Regions from separate parts of the Homo sapiens genome. Here all the other regions are linked to region 2. The links are contacts of gene promoters, found by promoter capture Hi-C in blood cells and fetal thymus (Javierre and others, 2016). All regions are on one chromosome and are shown on one strand. Each heading gives the region's core, a stretch centred on a gene start or on the middle of the fragment in contact. The rest is flanking DNA. Distances are from core to core; before and after follow the strand shown.

Region 1 (2,700 bases), core at 76-2,575, 5.9 Mb after region 2:
AGTTTGTATCTTGTAATATTCAGTCAGTAAATGAGCAGCTTGGTAGGGATCATTTACACATTTTCCCAAAAGGGTAGTAGGTGTTTTTCAGGATATTTATATTGAAGGTATAGGAATGGAATCTGGTTGCACATAAATGCACTCCTTAATGTATTGATTATTCATAAGAGAGGAACAAGAAGATAAAGATTGGGCTATAGCATGAGGTCTAGGCGATAGCACAAGTTCTAGACAAATATTCACAATCTTTAAGTTTATCACGTGCTATTGATCTGTCTAGGTATGCTCAAAATGGTCTACACTGAAAAAAAGTATTTAAAAACAAAGCAAAGAAAAATATCTGGGAAGTGGGAAGTGGTTTGGTTCTTGTTCACAGAAGGTAAGCAATAGACAACCTTTTGAAATTAATTGCTGGGGTAGTGTAGGGTGAAGGAGTGGATGCCAAAGAAATAACCAGTACGATCTGTGTCTTAAAGTTGAGAAGATAACACATGAAACAGAACCTTTTATTTATTTATTTATTTATTTATTTATTTTCAAGACAAGGTCTCACTCTGTCACCCAGGCTGGAGTGCAGTGGCACGATCACGGCTCACTGCAGCCCCTACCTCCTGGGCTCAAGCCATCCTCCCACCTCAGCCTCCCAAGTATCTAGGATCACAGGCATGTGCTACCATGCCTGCTTTGTAGAGACAGGACCTTGCTGTGTTGCCCAGGCTGCTCTCAAACCCCTGGCCTCAAGAGATTCACCCACCTCGGCCTCCCAAAGTACCGGGGTTATAAGCGTGAGCCACCACTGCAAGTCTAAGAACAATTTTTTTTTTAATTATATACTGAATTTAGAGAAACTTCAGTAAGTGATAGAATAGTTGATGGAGGAGGTTTCAGGTAGTGAGTGGAGCTGAGTGGAGCCATGAAGCTTGGATATTATTTGACCCTAAGACAGTGCATTTTGGCAGAGAAGTGGTATGGGCAATGACATGAATCTATGTGAGTCCTATGTGTTTAGGTGACACTGAGGTGACTGTCCTGACTGCGTTTCTTGGTGTGTATTGGAGAGAATATTGGGAGAACTAGGACTGTACAGGTGGATTAAAGAGTTTTGAAAACCAGGAAAAGTTTATATTTACAAACTGAAAAGAAAATTTACAGCCAATGTAAAAAAAAACTTTTTTTGAGGTGTAGTCTTGCTCTATCACCCAGGCTAGAATGCAGTGGCACGATATCAACTCACTGCAACCTCTGCCTCCCGGGTTCACGCGATTCTCCTGCCTCAGCCTCCCAGGTAGCTGGGACTACAGGCATGTGCCACCACGCCTGGCTAATTTTTTTGTATTTTTAGTAGAGATGGGGTTTCACCATGCTGGCAGGCTGGTGTCGAACTCCTGACCTCAACTGATCCACCCGCCTCGGCCTCCCAAATTGCTGGGGTTACAGACGTGAGACTCCATGCCCATCCCAATGTATATATTTTTAAATGGAATATTAACATCAGCAGGTTAGTCTGGTATTGGTACATAGAATAGGTTAGGTATGATGGCAAGAGCTAGAACACTTGTGGAGTAATGAGGTATATGCCTCCTTACAAGTATATGTTGGTGCAAAAGTAATTGCAGTTTTTGCCATTCCTAATACTAGCATTCTAAATGTCAAAGGGCATAAATCTAAGGTATTTTAAAGAAAGTAATAACAGGGCTTTGTAAACAGTAAGATTGAAGACAGTAAGCTTAGGGGAAAAGATGTATGGAGAGTCTTAACACTTGAATCAGACTACAACAGTGTATATTTTTCACATAATAGATTTATATTGCATATTGTGGCCTGGAGAAAAAGTTCAGTGCCCTATAAACCAAAATGTCTGATCTCTTAGAATGCCTCATTTCCTAATATGTCCGAAGATGAGTATTTCCTAAATTTGTTTCCAATTTAAATATTTTGAGCACATTTCAACAAATGTCAGAGACTTACAAAATAGGAAAGGATATACCCTAAGAGACTGTAAGCTTCTTGGGGGCTTTTTGACACTAATTTTAGAGTGTTTAGAAACTTTTTAACATTCATTTTTGTAACCCCAGCACAGTGCATAACATTTTGTAAATGTTCATTTTTTGTGGAAAAGTGAATTCAAACTTTTGTTTAAAATTTGCTTTTTATGTGTGGCTAATTCTACGCAGTGAATAAATAAGCTATGCATAAATAACCATGTGTTAACTACAATTTTATAAAGGTTTGTGTGTTTTTTTTCTGGTTGTAGAAAGGTATATTTACTTTTATTGTTCTTTAAAGAGTAATGACCTGTTCATTAGCTTACACCTGTTTTGCAACATTTTAGGCATTGTATGAGAGGAAATTTCCAGTTCCAAAGCCAATTGATTACAATCGTCATGCAGTGGTCATGGAACTCATAAATGGTTATCCACTGTAAGTATTCATTATTCTTAAAGCCATGAATCCTGATAAATGAATTTAAGTTTCAGGGTTTTTAATAAAATTTTTTTTAGTTAATGAAATATTGCCTCTGGGAGGTTAAAATTTATTTAAAGGAATAGACTCAAAGACAAATTAAAAACCCAGTTTCATTCTGACAATATGAACTTTGTAATCTCTGTGATTCATTCATTCATTCAATATTAAGAGACTGTTAGGTGCCAGGAACTTTTAATCTCAGCAGTGAACAAAACAAAGTCCCTGCCCTCATGG
Region 2 (2,700 bases), core at 46-2,545:
TTAATAGAGCAAGTTGCTTGACTGTTCAAAGCCTCCATTTCTAACTCTGTAAAATGGTGATAATAATCTAACATACCTCCTGGAATTGTTGAGAGGAATAAATGACAAACTATGTAAAGCACTCGGCACACATAAGACTCAGTTAATGGCAACTATCGTTATTATTTTATCTATCTGAGACAAAAAAATTATCTATTTCATTTAAGAATTCTCAATAGCAAAACAAAATCCTGTCCCAGTGTAGAGCGAGGATTTTACGTGCTAAGGTCAGCTATGCTTCCCACTTCCACAGTTAAGCCTTCCAGCAAGACAACTACTAGCCAAAGGACACCAAGAGTCGCAATCTCCCAGGAAGTGGTCAAGAACCTCGTGAATGAGATCCAGGGATCATCACCCTGGCCCCTTCTTCTTCAAGGCGCAGAAGGCTGCAACGACCTCCAAATGACTAGGTGCGGCAGTGCCCTGCAGCCTCGGTCCCTACTATGAAAAGCTGCAACACATGAGGCTTTTGTTATTTTAAAGTGGGTGTGGGGTTGACAGAGAGAGGGATAAAGACTAAGGCAGAAAATTTTTTAAAAAGCCACCTCTACCCACAGCAGTCCCATAACTCGAGGCTAATCACTTCAGTGGAGCCAGGCACAGCGTGGGGTAGAAGCTCAGCGGTTCCCTTTTAGCTGATCTTCAATTTCTGGCGTCTCGAACCCAAGAAATGAAAAAGGGAAGCCATGGGGGAGCAGGAGGAGAAATCAAGGCGCGAAAGGACCCTCAAAGCTGTACTGTCACTCCACGCCCAGGCTGTCATTCTCTCCAGCACAAGCCCCTCGGTGGAGCATGTGTTTAGGGTCTGCAGAGCACAGGAGACAAAGCAGAAGCCCAGCAGCCGCCTCAACCCTGGCATGATCAGGTTCCGCATCTCCGGTTCTCCTCCGGTTTTGGGCCCTCACCTGCCACGAATGCGGTCGTCACGCGAGCAGTTGTGAGATGGTCAAGCCCATTCAGGTCTAGGTTACCCCCTTTCATCCCGGAGGCAGGGGTGAGGTGTTTGTCAAGAGACTTCAGTTGTAGGCGTGGACGTAGGCTACTTCCTTCAGTAACAGCTATAGGGCCACATAAGGGAACCTCAGGCTACTACACCTCAGGAATCTCCGTCACGCCTCTTCCCCGCCCTCCTCGGGTCTCACGCCGAAACCTCACCGGGCGGAACGATTTCCGGCAAGAGCCAAATGATCAGTCCTAACCTTTCTGACCGTGGTTCCAAGGTTCCCCAAAGGACTGCCCTCTAAAGGACCCGGGTAGTTCCGCTTCCGGCAGCGCGAGATAAATCACGAGAGGAAGCTTAAATCTGTCGTTTGAATTTAGGACCACCTCGGTGAGTGGTCGTTCTGGTGTGCTGTGTCATACCTACTGTTTTTTAAAGTGAGGCGTAACCCGACAGTAATTTCAAAACCATTCGCCTCGACCGGCCTAAGGAAGGGTTTAATTGAGTCTGTGGGGAGATTTTGCGCAAGCGCCTTTGAGATAGGAGGGCCTTGGGCGTTGCGATGTCCCGCGCTAGCTGAGCAGAAAGGGCGAGTGCTGTTTCGGGCCTGGGGAGGTGCCTACTGGGTGTAATTGAGTTTTACCAAACGGTCATTTTCCTGCTGATTCTGAGTGTGGTTGGACCTTGCCCTTAAGATTCCGTTAACGAGTCGCCCAAAGCTTAGGAAATGCTCCCTCACAGCGTTTGAGACTAAGCACTTTTGGCCGGCGTTGAAGAATTCTCCCCATTACTTTGATCAGTCATTTAATCAGAAATTTTGCCCCAAATTTAAATACGTGGCGGGGAGAAACGTGAGGTCAAGAGGGAATCCTGTCACGTAGTTTTAAAAGAAAAATGTCCACTTTATCTCAGTGTAGGTTTTTCTTAAATGGGCATTTCTGAACCAAAGTAGATACTTTTTAAAGTGGAAATGCATTTATCCCATGTGGCTTCATGTGAATGCATATGGCGATGAAGGCATTTTTTTGTTCAATGAATTTGTACTCTGAAGTGAACCAGATTACAGAGAAGTGTATTTAAATTTACAGGTCCTTGACGTTGCATAAAATTGTGCGTGTCCATTTTTTGGAGCTTAAAATAGAATAATTCAAATGTCAGAATTCCGATCCAAGTTAACATGTTGATTGAAAATTGCAGATTTTAAGATGGAACCAGCGGGTATTATAACCTTTTAGGGGCTTAAATTGGTGGCTTTGTTTTTAACCCTTGGTGAAACAGTTAAGTCCTAATCTTGACATAATACCTAACTGCCTTACTTTATTGAACACAAAATTATTAAAGGAATTAAGCAATGAGTTGATTTTATTTGCTTTTATGGAGGGGACAAAGTGTATAAAGCTTAACCAAATGTGACCCTGACATTCCTCTTGCAAAACTACAAGTTGTAATCAATCACTTTCATTTTTTCTTATTCCTACATGTTTAAGTACATTAAGTAATGATTTTAAGAGAAATTCTTGAAAATATGAGCATATCCAAAGAAGTCCCAGGACAGTCTTTCTTTATGTAGTAGAAACCACTTAATCCCCCTTGTAAATGATACCTTTACTTAGCAATCAGAGTATAAGAAGATATTTATATTTGTCTCGAATATTACAGTTTCAAGCCATTTTCTCATATGTATGGGCTTTGAAAAAAAAAAAACAACTTTCATTTACGTT
Region 3 (2,700 bases), core at 116-2,615, 7.6 Mb after region 2:
CATATTCTCAATATCAGAAATATCAATAATACTCTAAACGAAGACCAAAATGTTATTAGAGAAAATATTTAAAAATTTTCTAGAAGTTTTGGTTTTTGACTTCATGTAGTTTTTACACACTAACAAATCATTTAAAAACTAGGCTACTACTAGTACTGCTGATAATGGTATCAATGGGAGACGGTCAGTAGAATATTTCATTCTGAACTGAAAGGCATCTTAACACAGCTGGCTGATGAAAAAGAGAGAAAGTAAGTTTTCCATAGTATGTTAATGTGGTTTACAATGGATAGCCAGTTATAAGTGAAAACACAGTTCTGTCAAATTTAGTTGGCAGAGAAAATCTTGAAAAATGGCTTTTGTTATAACTTCTATAACTTACTAATAGCCCATTTCAATTTTCTCAAGGCCATTCCTATGGTTCAAACAAATTAAGCACTCTAAAATTGGGCATTTAAGAAATAAAAATGACCCATTAATTGGCTTTCTGCAAAAGTTACAGAAATGGTACCAACTGCCTTTAGTTGCTGCATTCTGCTCTTGTTAATTAATTCTCATGGGTCCACACATTTTTCCCCCTTGGGGTGGGTAAGTCTTTTTGTAGATACAATTTTGTGATTTTGATTGCTCCTTCTGAACCATGGCTTGTACTCGGTTCCTTATCATTATGGGCCATGCAGAATCAGAGAAGTTTAGGTTTGAATTAATCATCCTAATAAAAGAATGTAACAGCAACTTTAATTTGCCATGTCAGCATGGCAAGACTGCTTATAGTGTTCTTCCCAGATCTGTCCATCAGACTGAATGAGATTCTCACTAGACTCTCTAGTAAACACTCCTGTACCTACTCTCCCCTGCCACTCCTGAAACCTCAGCAAAACTAAAACTGATACAGGTGCAGTGGCAGGGAGTAGAGGTAGGAGTAGGAGTGGGGATGCAGAAGATGCCTCTGTCCTTTAAGACCCAGGCAGAGATGCTTCTTTTCTATTATTTATTTAATTTTAAATTTTTATTTATTTTTTTTGAGACAGAGACTCACCCTGTCACCAAGGCTGGAGTCCAGTGGCACAATCTCGGTTCACTGCAACCTCTGTATTCTAGGTTTAAGCGATTCTCCTGACTCAGCCTCCCGAGTAGCTGGGCAGGTGCCCACCACCATGCCTGGCTAATTTTTGTATTCTTAGTAGAGATGGGGTTTCACCATGTTGGCCAGGCTGGTCTCGAACTTCTGACCTCAGGTGATCTGCTCGCCGTGGCTTCCCAAAGTGCTGGTATTACAGGTGTGAACCACCGTGCCTAGCCTGTTTTCTGTTCTTTTAAAAATGGGTTTATTAAGATATAATTAACACACTAAACAACTCATCCATTTAAAGTGTACAATTCAATGGTTTTTAGTGTATTCAGAAAGCTGTGCAACCATTACCATAGTCGATTTTAGAATGTTCTCATCATCCCCAAAAGACATTCTGCACTCTTTAGCCATTACTCTCTATTTTCCTGAAGCCTAGGCAACCACTAACCTACTTTCCGGCTCTATGTTTGCTTTTTCTGGACATTTCATATGAATGGAATCATACAATATGTGGTCCTTTTTGACTAGCTTCTTTCATTTAGCATAATCTTTTTAAGTTTCATCTATATTGTAGCATATACCATATTTTTTATTGTTGAATAATATTACCAAATTTTATTTATCCATTTATCAATTGATGGGCATTTGGGTTGTTTATACTGTTTGGCCATTATGTATAATGAACATTATAATGCTATGAACATTCATGTAGAAGTTTTTGTGTAGACTTATATTTTCATTTCCCTTGAATATACACCTAGGAGTAAAACTGCTGGATTATACAGCAACTCTATGGTTAACCATTCGAGAAACTGCCAAACTGATTTCCAATGGCTGCGTGATCCTACCAGCAGGGTATGGGTTGCAATTCCTCCACATTGTTGCCATCTCTAGTTATTGTCTTTTTCATTATAACCATCCCAGTGGGTATAACTGGTGTCTCACTGTGGTTTTGATTTACATTTCCCGAATGATTAATGATGTTGAGCATCTTTTCATGTATTTATTTGTCATCTGCGTATCTTCTATGAAGAAATGTCTATTAAGATCTTTTGGCCGGGCATGGTGGTTCATGCCGGTAATCCCAGCACTTTGGGAGGCCTAGGCGGGTATATCCCAAGGTCAGGAGATCGAGACCATCCTGGCTAATACGGTGAAACCCCATCTCTACTAAAAATAAAAATTAAAAAATTATCTGGGTGTGGTGGCGGGCACCTGTAGTCCCAGCTACTCAGGAGACTGAGGCAGGAGAATGGCTTGAACCTGGGAGGCAGAAGTTGCAGTAAGCCGAGATTGCGCCACTGCACTCCGGCCTGGGTGACAGAGCGAGACTCCATTTCAAAAAAAAAAAAAAAAAAAAGATCTTTTGCCCATCTTTTAATTGCCTAATCCACAATCACAAAGACTTACACCTATGTTTTCTTGTAAGAGTTTTTTAGTTTTACATTTGATTAATCAATCAATTTACTTAAAGTTTTTTTTTGTGTGTTTGTGTATGGTGCAAGGCAGGGTCCAACTTCATTCATATTTTTTTTTTCCAGCACCATTTGTTTAAAAGATCATTCTTTCCCTATTAAATGGTCTTGGCACCCTTGTTAAAAAATCAATTTACTATAAATATGAGAGTT

The links. Contacts are between HindIII fragments. The CHiCAGO score rates a contact against its expected background, and 5 or more counts as called.
Region 1: a contact is called between a fragment that was not itself captured here and the fragment with the promoter of GIN1 in region 2, in 1 of 17 cell types (total CD4 T cells). The highest score is 7.6, in total CD4 T cells.
Region 3: a fragment that was not itself captured here is called in contact with the fragment with the promoter of GIN1 in region 2 in 1 of 17 cell types (total CD4 T cells); the score reaches 5.2 in total CD4 T cells.

The regions. Positions count from the first base shown.
Region 1 is chr5:97,172,896-97,175,595 of GRCh38, reverse strand. It overlaps RIOK2 (RIO kinase 2), which reads left to right. Exons shown (of 10, transcript NM_018343.3): 5 at 2,333-2,421. Among named protein-coding and RNA genes, the nearest start is that of RIOK2, 9.0 kb to the left of the region's middle. The HindIII fragment of the contact is 807 bases long and covers 922-1,728 here.
Region 2 is chr5:103,118,733-103,121,432 of GRCh38, reverse strand. GIN1 (gypsy retrotransposon integrase 1) reads left to right here and starts at 1,295. Exons shown (of 8, transcript NM_017676.2): 1 at 1,295-1,369. PPIP5K2 (diphosphoinositol pentakisphosphate kinase 2) reads right to left here and starts at 1,132. Exons shown (of 31, transcript NM_001276277.3): 1 at 945-1,132. RefSeq lists enhancers at 732-791, 842-1,031, 1,062-1,321, 1,157-1,657, 1,658-2,159. The HindIII fragment of the contact is 9,897 bases long and covers 1-1,337 here.
Region 3 is chr5:95,560,535-95,563,234 of GRCh38, reverse strand. All of the region lies in intron 1 of ARSK (arylsulfatase family member K), which reads right to left. Among named protein-coding and RNA genes, the nearest start is that of ARSK, 6.8 kb to the right of the region's middle. The HindIII fragment of the contact is 2,864 bases long and covers 1-2,700 here.